Linked DNA regions of Homo sapiens: region 1 is linked to region 2. The links are contacts of gene promoters, found by promoter capture Hi-C in blood cells and fetal thymus (Javierre and others, 2016). All regions are on one chromosome and are shown on one strand. The core of a region is centred on a gene start or on the middle of the fragment in contact, and the rest is flanking DNA. Distances in the headings are between cores, read along the strand shown. Region 1 overlaps LOC105371082 (a long non-coding RNA gene). Region 2 holds the start of SNN (stannin).

Region 1 (7,350 bases), core at 177-2,676, 300 kb after region 2:
ATCTCTACTGGAAAAAAAAAAAAAAAAAAAAAAAATCCGGGCATGGTGGCTGGCGCCTGTAATCCCAGCTACCCAGGAGGCTGAGGCAGAGAACTGCTTGAACCCAGGAGGCGGAGACTGCAGTGAGCCAAGATCACACCACTGCACTCCAGCCTGGCGACAGAGTGAGACTCCGTCTCAAAAAAAAAAAAAAAAAGTTTGGGTCGGGCACAGTGGGTCACGCCTGTAATCCCAGCACTTTGGGAGGCCAAGGTGGGTGGATCATGAGGTCAGCAAATCGAGACCATCTTGGCTAACACGGTGAAACCCCGTCTCTACTAAACATACAAAAAATTAGCCGAGTGAGGTGGCGGGCTCCTGTAGTCCCAGCTACTTGGGAGGTTGGGGCAGGAGAATGGCGTGAACACGGGAGGTGGAGCTTGCAGTGAGCGGAGATCGTGCCACTGCACTGTAGCCTGGGCGACAGAGCGAAGGCTCCATCTCAAAAAAAAAAAAAAAAAAAAAGTTTGATCTTAGGCCTTACAATAGTCCAATGAGGAACGGATGATCCCCACTTAATGAGAGAAGAAACAAAGGCTCAGAGAGTTGAGGGGATTTCCCCAAGGTCATACAAGCTACAAACAGCCAGGATGGCACTGACGCGGGCCTGCCTGCCTCCCAAGGCTGCCCAAGCTCACTCAACCCCCACTTCTGCTTTTGCAATAAAAGAAAAGCAAATCACTGGTGCTCAGGGGCCCATGAGCAATTCAGAGTCAGATGCAACTAGAGTGTGCAGCCACCTGACCTGTTGGTTTCTCAATATGCTTAACGGATCCATGATTTCTGGTCCAGAAAGGAAACGCAGAAGCTTTCCTTCCTGCCTCCCACATTCTATGGGTCAAGTATTTACCAAAAACACAGCAGTGGACTGGACACCAGCAGAGATACAAAGAGGGAAACATAGTTCTCCCTTCTCAAGGCAGGTTGGACAACATCAATACTTTCCAACTGGGGGGTGTGGGTGGAGTACTTATGCATGAATTTGAAACAGATAGGAGAGGGAATGATTCCAGCGGAAAGACCAATTCACGTCTACAATATACACTGAACTCCAGCCTGGACAACATAGCAAGACTCTGTCTCTAAAAAAATTTAATCATTAGCCAGGCATGGTGGCACATGCCTGTCTAGGAGGCTGAGGCAGGAGGATCACTTGAGCCCAGGAGTTCAAAATCACAATCAACTATGATCACACCACTGCACTCCAGCCTGGGCATCAGAGCAAGGCCCTATCTCCAAAACAAAACAAGGTAAGATGTTTACATACAAATCAAGGTAAGAAAATCCAAAATAAAATATTACCAAACAAACCCCACTGGGGCCTTAAAAAAAAAGTGACCTAAACCAAGTGAGAATTGTACAGTGTGACAAGGATAGCTCAAAATTAGAACATCTTTTAATTTCAAATATATATATATATATATATATATATATATATATACACACATATTTTTTTTTTTTTTTTTTTTTTCCTGAGATGGAGTCTCGCTCTATTGCCCAGGCTGGAGTGCAGTGGTGCGATCTAGGCTCACTGCAAGCTCCGCTTCCTGGGTTCACTCAGTTCTCCTGCCTCACCCTCCCGGGACTACAGGCGTCCGCCACCACACCTGACTAGCTTTTTTGTATTTTTAGAAGAGATGGGGTTTCACCATGTTAGCCAGGATGGTCTTGACCTCCTGACCTTGTGATCTGCCTGCCTCAGCCTCCCAAAGTGCTGGGATTACAGGTGTGAGCCACTGCGCCCAGCCTAATTTCATTCATATTAATATGTTAAAAATCATAATCATCGTAGATGTTGAAAAGGCATTTGACAAAATTTACTACAAAATTTAGAAAAAAACACATCAAATTAGAAAGAGGGATACTTCCTTAAATTACACACGATAAAGGAAATTACACCCAGACACACACCCATCAAGCCAGAGCCCAGCATCATTTATAGGGGATGGAAGCAACAGAAGCTTCCATTAACCTTCGCAACAAAAGAATGCCCTCTGTTACCACTATTATTTTGGAGGCCCTAGCTGATGAAACTAGGCAAGGAGGAAAGTAAGACATTTAAGAAAAAAGCAGGAGGTAAAATAATTTACTCTGAAAAATGAGGCAGACAGATTTTGCTAAGGAGTTAGGTACAAAAGTAACATAATAAGCAGCCTTCCTTTTTCTTAATTTTTAAAATATAGAGATGGGGCCGGGCACAGCTCACGCCTGTAATCCCAGCACTTTGGGAGGCCGAGAGAGGCGGATTGCTCGAGGCCAGGAGTTCGGTACCAGCCTGGCCAACATGGCAAAACTCCACCTCTACTAATAATACAAAAATTAGCTGGGTGTGATGGCACACACCTGTAATACCGGGTACTCAGAAGGCTGAGGCATGAGAATTGCTTGAACCCAGGACATGGAGGTTGCAGTGAACCGGGACTGCATTACTGCACTTAGCCTGGGTGACAAAGAAAGACCCTGTCTCAAAAAAAAAATAACATAAAGATGCGGTCTTACTATGATGCCCAGGCTGGTCTCAAACTCCTGGGCTCGAGCAGTCCTTCTGCCTCAGTCTCCCTAAGTGCTAGGATTATAGATGTGAGCCACCAAGGCTGGCCTCAGTCCTCCTATGTACAAACAAGCAGTTAGAAAAGTTAACAGAAGAAAACATCCCATTTGCAACAGCACACTCCCAAAAAACAAAATTCTCAGAAATAAATGTGCAAAAATATACACACACAATCCATATGAAGAAATCTTTCAAATGCTGCTGAGGGATATGAAACACTTTGAATGCAAAGAAGGCCATGCTGCATGTGTTATCGAGAAACGTTCAACATTAAAAAGATGTCACATCAATATCAAGAGGGGGTGTGTGGAAATGGAGGCTCCACACATGCTGGGGGGAACGTGGCGGCATGGCAACTCCAAAACACAGTTTGGCGGTTTCTTAAAAGGTGAATATAAATCTACCTTATGGGGCTGGACACAGTGGCTCACGCCTGTAATCCCAGCACTTTGGTAGGCCAAGGCAGGTGGATAACCTGAGGTCAGGAGTTCGAGACGAGCCTAGCCAACATGGTGAAACCCCATCTCTACTAAAAGTCCAAAAAAAATTAGCTGGGTGTCACAGGTAGTGGGCACCTGTAATCCCAGCTACTCGGGAGGCTGAGGCAGGAGAATCACTTGAACCCAGGAGGCAGAGGTTGCAGTGAGCCAAGATCGTGCCACTGCACTGCAGCCTGGGCGACAGAGCAAGACTCCATCTGAAACAAACAAAAATTAGCCAGGCATGGTCACACACACCTGTAATCCCAGCTACTCAAGAGGCTGAGCCAGGAGAATAGCTTGAACCTGGGAGGCAGAGGTTGCAGTGAGCCAAGATCATGCCACTGCACTCCAGCCTGGGCAACAGACGGAGACTGTCTCCTAGATAGATAGATAGACAGAGATAAAAAATAAAGTGTCAAAATCAGTGGCTTTTGGTATACTTACATAACGGTGCATCCATCACCACAATTCAATTGATTTTAGAACATTTTCATTTCCCCAACAAGGAACCCTGTTATCCTTAGTCATCCCCCCTCCCAGTTCTTCCTTCCTCCCCAGCACCAGGTGACCAGTAATCTGCTCCCTCTCTCTCTCTGGATTTTCTCATTCTGGACATTTCACATAAATGGAATCATACAATACGTGGCCCTTTGTGATTGGCTGCTTGGACTTGGCATAAAGTTCGAGGCTCACCCATGTGTGGACATTTCACATAAATGGAATCATACAATACGTGGCCCTTTGTGACTGGCTGCTTGGACTTGGCATAAAGTTCGAGGCTCACCCATGTGTGGCCCATGTCTGTGCTTCATTCCTTTTTACTGCCTTATTGCCCAAGTGGTGTCATAAGCACCGTAGGTGCACTGTGAAAAGTTAGGGTGTGTGTTGTAATCCCTAGAACAATCGCTAAAGAAAACATATATAGCTAAAAACATAGAGCAAAAAGATATAGCCAGAAGTCAACAGAGATAAAAGGAAATGTGAAGAATCACTCCATTAATCCAAAAGAAGGCAAGAAAGGAGGAACAAGAGACAAAGAGAAATAGGTGGGTGCGCTGGCTCCCTATGAAAAATACAAAAAAAAAAAAAAAAATTAGCTGGGCGCACTGGCGTGCACCTGTGATCCCAGCTACTCGGGAGGCTAAGGCAGGAGAATCGCTTGAACCCAGGGCGGGGGGAGGGGTGCGGAGGATGCAGTGAGCCACTGCACACAGATCATGCCACTGCACACTCCAGCCTGGGCAACAAAGCAAGACTGTGTCTAAAAGAAAAACAACAACAAAAAACACAAACAGCATACATTAGAAATTCCATTGGGCTGGGCACAGTGGCTCACGCCTGTAATCCCAGCACTCTGGGAGGCCGAGGCGGGCGGATCACGAGGTCAGGAGATAGAGAACATCCTGGCTAATACGGTGAAACCCCATCTACTAAAAAATACAAAAAATTAGCCAGGCATGCTGGCAGGCGCCTGTAGTCCTGGCTACTTGGGAAATTGAGGCAGGAGAATGGCGTGAGCCCGGGAGGCAGAGCTTGCAGTGAGCCGAGATTGCGCCACTGCACTCCAGCCTGGGCGACAGAGCGAGACTCCGTCTCTAAAAAAAAAAAAAAAAAAAAAAACAGAGAGAAGTTCCATTGAACGAAAGTAAGTGAAATAAACACTCCAAGTGAAAGTGAGATAGTGAGACTAAATTTAAAAAAACACAAACAAAAACATGACTCACCTACATAATGTGTAGAAGAGGCACACTGTACATAGAAAAGCAGGTAAGATGAAAACACAGGATGAAAAAAGATATCTATGTAAACATTAATTATAAAACTCTATTAACATCAGATAAACAGATAATATGTCGGCTTCCTACTTTTTTGATGGAACAATTAAAAATGCAGAAAATGGGGTTGGTACAGTGGCTCACCACTTTGGGAGGCCAAGGTGGGCAGATCACTTGAGCTCAGGAGCTTGAGACCATCCTGGACAACATAGTGAGACCTCATCTCTATCAATAACAACTGCCACCTGAGAAAATGGCATTTTTCATGAGGAACATCAAATACTGTGCTGTCCTTTCCCTAACTTCTGGTTAAGTCTTTCCTAAAACCAAGGCCCAGCTTTGGGACTCCTGCAGTTCCATTAGGTGTCAACAAGTCCCTTTTGCCAAAAATTAGGAAAAACAACCGAAAGTCCATCCACCAATGAGTGGATAAACCAAATGTGGTCTATCCATATGATGGAATATTATGTCATAAAAAGGAATCAGTCATAATAAGGGATGAAGTACTGATACAGGCCACAACATGAATGGATATTGAAAACACCATGCTGAGCCAGGCATGGTGGCTCACACCTGTAATCCCAGCACTTTGGAAGGCTGAGGCGGGTGGATCACTGCAGGCCAGGAGTTCAAGACCAGCCTGGCCAACATGGTGAAACCCCATTTCTACTAAAAATACAAAAATCAGCTGGGCATGGTGGCAGGTACTTGTAATCCTAGCTACTTGGGAGACTGAGGCAGAAGAATCACTTGAACCAGGGCGGCAGAGGTTGCAGTGAGCCGAGATCGTGCCTCTGCCCTCCAGCATGGGCGAAAGAGTGAGACTCTGTCTCAAAACAACAACAAAAATTTTAAAAACCCACCATGCTGAGTGCCAGAAGCCAGACACGAAATGCTACATATTGTATGATTACATTGGAAGGAAATGTCCAAAACAGACAAATTCATATAGACAGAAAGTACATTCATGATTGCAAGAGCTGAGGGGGATGGGAGGATTGTGGGATTGACTGTTAATGGGTATGGCATTTCTTTTAGGGTGATGAAGTGTTCTCGAATTAGTAGTGGTGATGGTTGTACCACTGTGTATACACTAAACACCAGAGAAAGGCCAGGCACGGTAGTTCATGCCTGTAATCCCAGCACTTTGGGAGGCCGAGGCAGGCAGATCACCTGAAGTCAGGAGTTCAAGACCAGCCTGCCCAACATGGTGAAACCTCATCTCTACAAAAAATACAAAACTTAGCCAGGCATGATGCCGGGTGCCTATAACCCCAGCTACTCGGGAGCCTGAGGCGGAAAAATGGCTTGAATCCAGGAGGCGCAGGTTGCAGTGAGCCGAGATCGTGCCACTGTACTCCAGTCTGGGTGACAGAGCGAGACTCCATCTCAAAAACAAACAAAAAACATCAGAGAATGGTACACTTTAAAGTGCTGCATTTTGTGGTATGTGAATTACTTATCAATTCCTTAAGACTAGTAGGAGAAGGAAGGCATTGCAAATGATATTTTGGTTTTGTAATTAAACAAGAGATTTCTCCCTCTCCCCCCAAAAAAGTTCTCTTTCAGTTTCTGCAAACTTCCTCCTTCCCTCCCCTACCCATCCACCCAGAGGAATTTTATCTGTTCCTGCCTAAACAGATTAGAGGGCTTTGTCTTTTGAGGCCTGGTAGGTAAATTAGAAAGGGGTCCCAAGTAAAGAGAGAGAGAGAGAGGCATCCCAGAGCCCTTTTCCATCTGAGCCTCCCACGGCCCATGACTCACTTTACCCAGTAACATGCTTCCCTTCCAGTTTACCATCTGGAAGAAGGAATAAACTTATTTTTCTTATTCACCAATAATTTATGTAAACCAAACATTGCAAACAAGGGTTTCCTTAGCAACCTCTATCTCATTCTCTTCAGATACCAATTGCTCTCCAGTAAAGGGAGTGTCCTGTTCCACACAACTTAAATTAACTTGGAAATCTCACTTAAAACAGAAAAGTTAAGGTCTTCTTAAGGTTTACCAGGGGCAATGCATTTGCAGGAATGCACGGGGCTGAAGGTCAAAGGCAAAGAAAACAAGGCACAAATTCTTTCACCCGGATTTGGTTTGTCCTTGTACACCCATGGTTGACAAGGTCACCTGGCAATGACAAATCTGCTTTTGAAGTTTTGTTTTTTTTTCTGGAGGCAGAGTCTTGTTCTGTCGCTGAGGCTGGAGTGCAGTGGCGCGATCTCGGCTCACTGCAATCTCTGTCTCGTGGGTTCAAGCGATTCTCCTGCCTCAGCCTCTGAGTAGCTGGGATTACAGGCGCCCACCACCATGCCTGGCTAATTTTTGATTTTTAGTATAGACAGGGTTTCACCATGTTGGCCAGGATGGTCTAAAACTCCTGATTCTCAAGTGATCCACCCGCCTTGTCCTCCCAAAGTGCTGGGATTATAGGCATGAGCCACCGTGCCCGGCCAGGTCAGTTTTCTCTAACAGAAGTAACAAAACAGATGTAATCCAAAATCAC
Region 2 (6,952 bases), core at 3,861-6,360:
GGAGACCATGGATATTGCTGGCACCTATCGTGCACAGGGCAGCCCCCACCACGCAGATGGCCCGGCTGGAGAAAGACACCCTGACCCGGTTAATACCAGCTCTGGCAGGGAAGCTTTCCCAACCCGGCCGGGCTCCTTCCCTCCGGAGCAGTGGCCTTGGCATGCAACCCTGGCTTCTGGAGCATGGCCACCTGATTAGCGCCCACCTCTCCCTCCAGCGGGCCATGAGCTCCACGGTGGCCCTGCTCTGTCCCCTGCATGTACAGACCACCCTGGCCTCTCCCCTGCCACCATCCGGTTCCACAACCCCACTTAGCTGTTCTCTCACGCCTCCAGACTGGACAGGGGACCCCTCTGACCCCACAGACAGCCTTCCCACCATGGCTGGGTGAGCCTGTCTACACTCGTCCCAACCTCTGTGTTCTCTCCCTGCAAGAAGAACACCAACCTGCCCTGTGCCTCCCACCTCCCACCTCCCTCTCCCCTGCACCTCTGGTTCCCAGGGCCTGCTGGGGTGCCTGCCCTCCCCTGGGGTTTCTGGACAGGAAGACAAGTCAGTATCAATTCGGAAGGGGAAGTGTGTGTGTTTGGGGGTGGGGGTGGTTCAGGGACAGGAAGTAGAAAATCAAACAATGGCACCAGGACCTGGGATAGGCGGGGCAAAGCCAGGTGGGCAGGCCAGGAGGCACCTGAGTTCAAGGGCCCCAGTTCAACCACTGGCCCCAGGACTAATGAGGAAACTGAGGCACAGGCGGCCCCAGCTCAAAGGGATTCTCTAAGAGGAGTGGTGACCCCAAAACCCCGTCTGCTGCCCTGAACCCAGGCCAGGAGGCATGGGCAGAGCCAGATGTGGGGTTCTGCCCCGCCGCGAGCACAGAGCCCAGTGACTGAGCCACAGTCACGCCTGGCCTGTGGTCCGGCCCTCCCGAGTGCGTATCTGTTCCTTCATTCACTCAGCAAATGTTTCCTGAGAAACGATCTTTGCAAAAATGTGATGGCGTTCTCCCCACTCAGAATCCTCCCCAGCACCAAAGAGAATCCAAGCTCCCTGCCTCCCCAGGCGTCCCCACACCCTCCGCTGCGAGCCCACGCTCCCACCTCTGCCCTGACCGCCCCACGGCTGGCACCTTCCTATTCGGGACTTTCTCAGAAGGCGCCTCTTGCAGGCTGCCCTCCCAGACCACCCTGGACCCAGGCGCCCCTCCTCCCACACCCCACCACTACAGCCTTGCCCTACTTCATTTGCTCTCCTTGCTACCTGCCCTTCTCTAGGCTCAGGGGCTGTCCCCTGGCTGCTGTCTCACTCCCCGCACTGGACTCCAAGGCAGTCCAAGGAGGGCACCGTCTGTCCCGCCCACAGCTGTACCCCTGCCCTGCACGGGTACACAGTAGGTGCTCAGTGAATGGTCTGTTGAGTGTTCCCTCCCTGCAGATACAGTGATGAGTTAGAGGAGACCCTGTTCTCAGGGGGATCATAGGTGGGGGGGTCCCTGACACTCAGGGCACTCCCAGAACCCTGAGCACAGGTCCCCATGTTCTGTCCCAACAGACTCAAAAAAGCCGGCAGACTGCATGGGAGAAGGCTGCAGGCCTAGTGTGGGGACAGAACGGCGAGTGCCAGTGGATTAGGGCAGGCCTGAGCCCATGGAAGGGCAGCTGGCTCCATGCTTGCTGGCAGGCAGGGAGGGAAGGGGGTGGCCAAGCAGAGCCCCGGGAAACTCAAAGCGCGGAGGGCAGCAGGTCCCCACAAGCCCCTGTGCCTGGCTGGACCCCACCTGTCTGTTCTTCCTTTCTAGCCCCTCTGAGCAAAGCTGTGTCTTGCAAGCTGGGTAACCCCTCGCCCTGATCCAGTAAAGCCCACAGGATGCAGGGGACAGGGACGGGCCACAGCTTGGGTTGGGGAGATGCCCAGGCTGGCACATGGGAATCCTGGCCCACCCAACAACCATCATGACAGCAGCTCACATTCATTCCCACCAGCATCTGATCCAGAAAGGCTGCAGCCACCTTTGTTCACCCTAGCATCTCCATCTGGCAGGTGAGGAAACTGAGGCGCACGCAGGGAGGTGAAGCAAAAAGCCAGAAGGCAGGATGGGAGCCCAGAGGGGAGCCCAGCAGAGCCAAGGGGTCTTCCAAGTGCAGAGGGGCCAGGACCCAGAGCACAGCCTGGGCCTTCCATCTCTGGGCAGGCTGGAGTGTCCCCTCTGCCTGGCATTTGAAGCCCAAGGCCATCTGGATCCCCCAAACACACACCCTCCTGCTCCATGTGCCTTCAGTCTTGCCATCCTCTGCCAAGGGGGTCCTGACTCTCGGATCCCACCCACCCACTATAAAAGCAAGATCCAAGGCCCAGGCTCTCCAGAACCCCCTGCCCCAGCATCCTCAAACAACCCCAAAGGAGGTCAACTGCAGCACAGGACACACTCTGTCTCCCGGCAGAGCCCACACATGTCCCAAGGAATAACAACTGCAAGACAAGCCTGAGCCATGCCAGGTGAGCGGGGGCCTGCACCGCCCTTGGCCACTCCTCCCCAGCAGCCCAAGCTTGCAGGTGTTACTGACACTGTCCTGCCGGGTTTGCCAAGGCCCACAGAGATCCGTAACTGGGACCCAAGGAGCATGGGGGCAGAGCCGGGGGTGAACCCCACCCCGTCAGAGCCATTCAAATGGACAGTCCCTGCCCCAGCTACCAGAGAGGGGACGGGTATCCTCCTGTCCTGCTCTCCCTCCCAGGACCCCGGCTTGTCTGAGCCTGATCCCACTCCAGAGGCCACTCCATGTGCTCTAGGCCCGGGGGGCCCACAGACCGCAGTAGAGCAGGCTGGAGTCCCCTCCATCCTCCCAGACCAGCACTCACTTTTGCGGCCTGCTTCCGCCCAGCCAAGCAAGCTGCTCCTCTTGGCCTCAGTTTCTCAATGCGCAAAGCGGATACGAGTCCCTGACCTCATCTACCAGGTCGTGGGGAGGATGAGAAGTGGTAAGAAAAGTGAAAACAAAAGGGACATGAGGTCACCAGGTTTGCATGTCACCAGCCACACCTTCCTGTGTGCTACAGCAGGGACAAAGGGAGAACACTGAGCCCGAGGGATCCCCAAGCCCACCCCCAGGGCCAGAAGGGCACAGAGCCTGGCCCAGGCCCAGTGCCACAAACACCCCTTCCCCAGGGACACGCTGCCTCCTCCTAACTCAACCGGGCACATCATGAGCATTGCCGGGCTCACCACCAGCAAAACACCCCCGCCTTGCAGCCGCCACCTCCTGAGGCTCCTTGACAGACGCCAGGAGGGCTGCCCTGCTTACAGGGGACCAGCCATCCCTACGGGGCTTTCAGTACTGCCTCCCCCCATAAAGCCACCTGCCAAGGGTGCCAACAAACTCTTCAGCGAACCCCGGGTCACAAACCAGAAACGTTTCCTGCCCCAGGTTCTGACTGGGAAAACAGGGTTGTAGGGAGAAGAGGGCACTGCTGGACACAGCCAGGACGAGGCGGGACGTCCGTTCTGCCCTGGGCCTCCAGCAGCCAGTGGGACACAAGGACGCATCACACAAGGCCCCAGCCCTCCAGAAGCCAGGACCAAGAACGGCCGGATGCCAGTGGGACTGACACTGATGGGGCTGTGCCCAGCTCTCTGGCCAGTGTTATCTCATCCTCCACCCCCACCCATGACACCCCCATCCTCAGAAGAGGAAACTCGCTCCAGAATCCCCTAGGTTCCCCAGTGGCAAAAGAGGAAGCGGGAGCCCGCAGAGCTCTGAACCGGGACTGCCCCAAGGTCAGTCGGGGTCTTCCTCGGGCCAGGCCAGAGGCTCATGCCCCCACCCTGTGAATCACCCGCTGGTCATTTTCACAGGCTGCCCCAGGGTTGGCCTGTTTGGCCAAACAACTTTGCTTGTAGATGCCGGAGAAAGTTGGTGGCAATTATATGTGCCAGACACTGAGATAAACAGCTCACGCAGATGTCTCCTTTCTGCCTCAAGACAACAGGGCAGTTGAGCTATTACTGTTCCCTCTTGGCAGATACAGAAATTGGTGGCTCAGAGAAGTTAAGTCCATTGCCCAAGGTCACACAGCTCAAAAGTAGACGCGCAGGGATTCAAACCCAGGCAACCTGCATCCAAAATCCCGCATTTCGACCCTGACTCTAAAATGCCACATTCTCCCTACCTCCTCTCCCGCGTGCCTGAGGGGCCGCGGACAGGTGAACCCCAGTGTGGCCCTCGCTGGGGCGGGCTGGGCGACCTGGGCTGGGTGCTGGGGACTTAGGGGTGACAGCGCCCCGGCGGCTCCCGAGTGCTGAGCGCGGGCGGCGTGGCAGGCGCGGTGCCAGGCGCGCTCCGCGCACCCTCCCGTTCCACCCTGCCCGGCGGCGCCGGCGTCTCCCCCACTCCACGGAGGAGCAAAGCGAGGCTCCAGGGAGGAGGGGGCTCGGCCCAGGGGGCGACAGCTGGAGAGGGGACGGCAGCTGGGGAGGTAGCTCGAATCGGCCCGACGGAGGCGGGGTGTGGGACGGGGACCAGGGGAGCTAGGCATGCCCACGCCGCGCAGCCGCTGCCCACGGAACCGGGCGCCGAACGCTGCGGCCCGGCCTCAGTTTCCCTACCCGCGAGACGGGCGCCGGACGTCACCTGGACCCCTATCCCCGGAGCCCTCCCCGGAGCTCCCAGAATTTTGAAGAACCCCGAAATGCCGGGGGAAGGCGGGAGCGTAGCTGAGGACGGGCGGGGGCTGCACGGGCGGGGGCGAGCGCCCCGCGATCCCCACAAAGCGGCCTCCGCCCCCCGCCGCCTCCTTTGTCCGGATCTCGCCGCAGCGCCGCTGACAAAGAACCCCAGCCCGCGGGCGCGGCCCCTGGAACGGACCCTCCCCCGAGCCGCGCCCGCCGGGCCGCCCCTCCCCCGCCCGCAGACCCCGGCCCGGCCCCGCCGCCGCGCGCGCCCCTCCTCGTCCTGGCCTCCCCCTTCCCGCCCCCGGGCCCCGGCGCCCCCGCCCGGCCCGAGCGCGCGGCCTGCCCCGCCCGGCTCACCATGGCGCGGCAGCGGCCCGGCCCGATCGCCCCGCAGCAGCCCCGCGGGCCCGGCTCCGCCCGCCCGGTCCGGCCGCCGCGCACTCGGGACGCAGGAGCCCCGCGCTGCGGCGGGCGGGGCCCGGCTCCTCCCCGGCTGGGGACGGGGCCTCCCAGAAAGGCCAATGGGAGCCCGCGCTGGGACGGCGGGGCGGGGCGGGCCGGGGCGGAGTCACGTGTGCTCGGGGCCGGCAGGCGGTGGGGCGGGGGCTGCGCGCGGCGGGCGGGCTCGGCCCTGGCGAGCGCGGATTGGGCGCCCGTGGGTACGGGGCCCCACTACAGGCGCCCTTCCTCTGCCAGCCTCATCCTGACCCCGGCAGGCTGCCTTGGTCCCGCCTGCTTACAGCGGAGGAAACTGAGGCACGCTGCACGGAAGAGTGCTGCATACTCCTCGAGAGCTGAGAGCGGCGGGGAATCCGGGGCAGGGGCAGGGGAGAGGCGCGACCGCTGAGGTGAATGACCTTGCTTCGGGAGGAAGCTGGGCATCAGTCGTTCGCGAATTCATTTATGTATCATTCATCCGCCCAGTCAGTCGATGGCGGAACACTGACCACGTGCCTGCCACGCCAGTCGTCGTGGGAGCAGCCACGAGCCAGACAAGGTCCCGGCCCTGACGAAGCTCTCATTCCTCTGCGGGATGAGGCTGTGAGGCATTTGCACCCCTCTGCCACCTATAATCATAGTTATTTTTAGCATAATTACCCGGTGGTTTGGCCCCCACCAAATGCCTGCCCTGTATAAACAGCCCAACACATTTTATTAAGATGACTCCGGAAGAAAGAATCTTCCCATTTTACAGATGAGGAACCTGAGGCTCCAAAGAGCTGAAGTCCCACAGCCTGCTCCTGATGGAGAGAGGGTTTTGAGGCCAGGCCTGTCTACCTGGGAAGACAGAGGCTCCAGTTATTGGAGTAATCTCCACTCATCCACCCCAAGAAGGCCATCGGCGAGAGGACACCCCAGCCCTGGGGCCCACAGAAGGGGTGAGGGTGGGTCCCTCAAGGCTTCTGTGGCCCAGGGGACTTGAGAAGACAGGAGGGGGCAGGGCGAGCTGGGACCTCCTCCTGGGAACGGGGGCCTTATTTGCTGGAAACTTCTTTCCCATTCTCAAGCAGAAGCCTCTGGAAGAGCATGGCGGGTTGGGCTCACGAGGCTGAGGTGGCCAGGCCCTCACTCCCTCCACTCAGCCTCGCTGGGCTTTCTTCCCTGCGCCCAGTGCACCAAGCCTTTCCCACCGCCAGGCCTTTGCCTATGTGGCTCCCTGCAGCTGGAACTCTTCTACTTCATCTTCCCGATCTCAGCTTAAGTGCCCCTTCCTCAGGAGGGCCCTCCCTGATCGCCCAGCCAAGAGTAGCTCCCTTGGGGTTTTTTGTTTTGTTTTTGAGACGGGGTCTTGGTCTGTCACTCAGGCTGGAGTACAGTGGTGCAATCACAGCTCACTACAGCCTCCATCCAACTCCTTCCTGGGCTCAAGCCATCGTCCCACTCAGCCTATATCTATGAATGTGGGCAGATTTGACGAAGCAATTTTTTTTCTTTTTTTTAGAGAGAAGGTCTTGCTCTGTCGCCCAGGCTGGAGTACAGTGGTGCAATCATAGGTCACTGTAACCTGGGCTCAAGCGATCCTCCTACCTCAGCCTCCCAGGTAGCTGAGACTACAGGTGCATGCCACCATGCCCGGCTAATTTTTTAATTTTTTGTAGAGATAGGGTCTCTTGTTGTTGCCTGAGCTGGTCTCAAACTCCTGGGTGATCCTCCTGCCCCGGCCTCCCAAAGTGCTGGGATTATAGGCTTGAGCCACCATGCCCAGCCTACCCATTGTGAAATTGTACATTTTTGACATTGTGTGATGAACTTTTGGTCTTCTCTCCCAGGACTAGGTGTATTGC

What was found. Contacts are between HindIII fragments. The CHiCAGO score rates a contact against its expected background, and 5 or more counts as called.
Region 1: a fragment that was not itself captured here is called in contact with the fragment with the promoter of SNN in region 2 in 2 of 17 cell types (M0 macrophages and monocytes); the score reaches 5.9 in M0 macrophages.

Annotation. Positions count from the first base shown.
Region 1 is chr16:11,364,109-11,371,458 of GRCh38, reverse strand. The region is part of intron 1 of LOC105371082 (a long non-coding RNA gene); the gene reads right to left. Among named protein-coding and RNA genes, the nearest start is that of RMI2, 22 kb to the right of the region's middle. RefSeq lists enhancers at 234-734, 920-979. The HindIII fragment of the contact is 1,153 bases long and covers 850-2,002 here.
Region 2 is chr16:11,666,613-11,673,564 of GRCh38, reverse strand. It overlaps SNN (stannin), which reads right to left and starts at 5,110. Exons shown (of 2, transcript NM_003498.6): 1 at 5,025-5,110. RefSeq lists silencers at 459-528, 5,018-5,437 and enhancers at 67-886, 3,811-3,910. The HindIII fragment of the contact is 10,329 bases long and covers 2,547-6,952 here.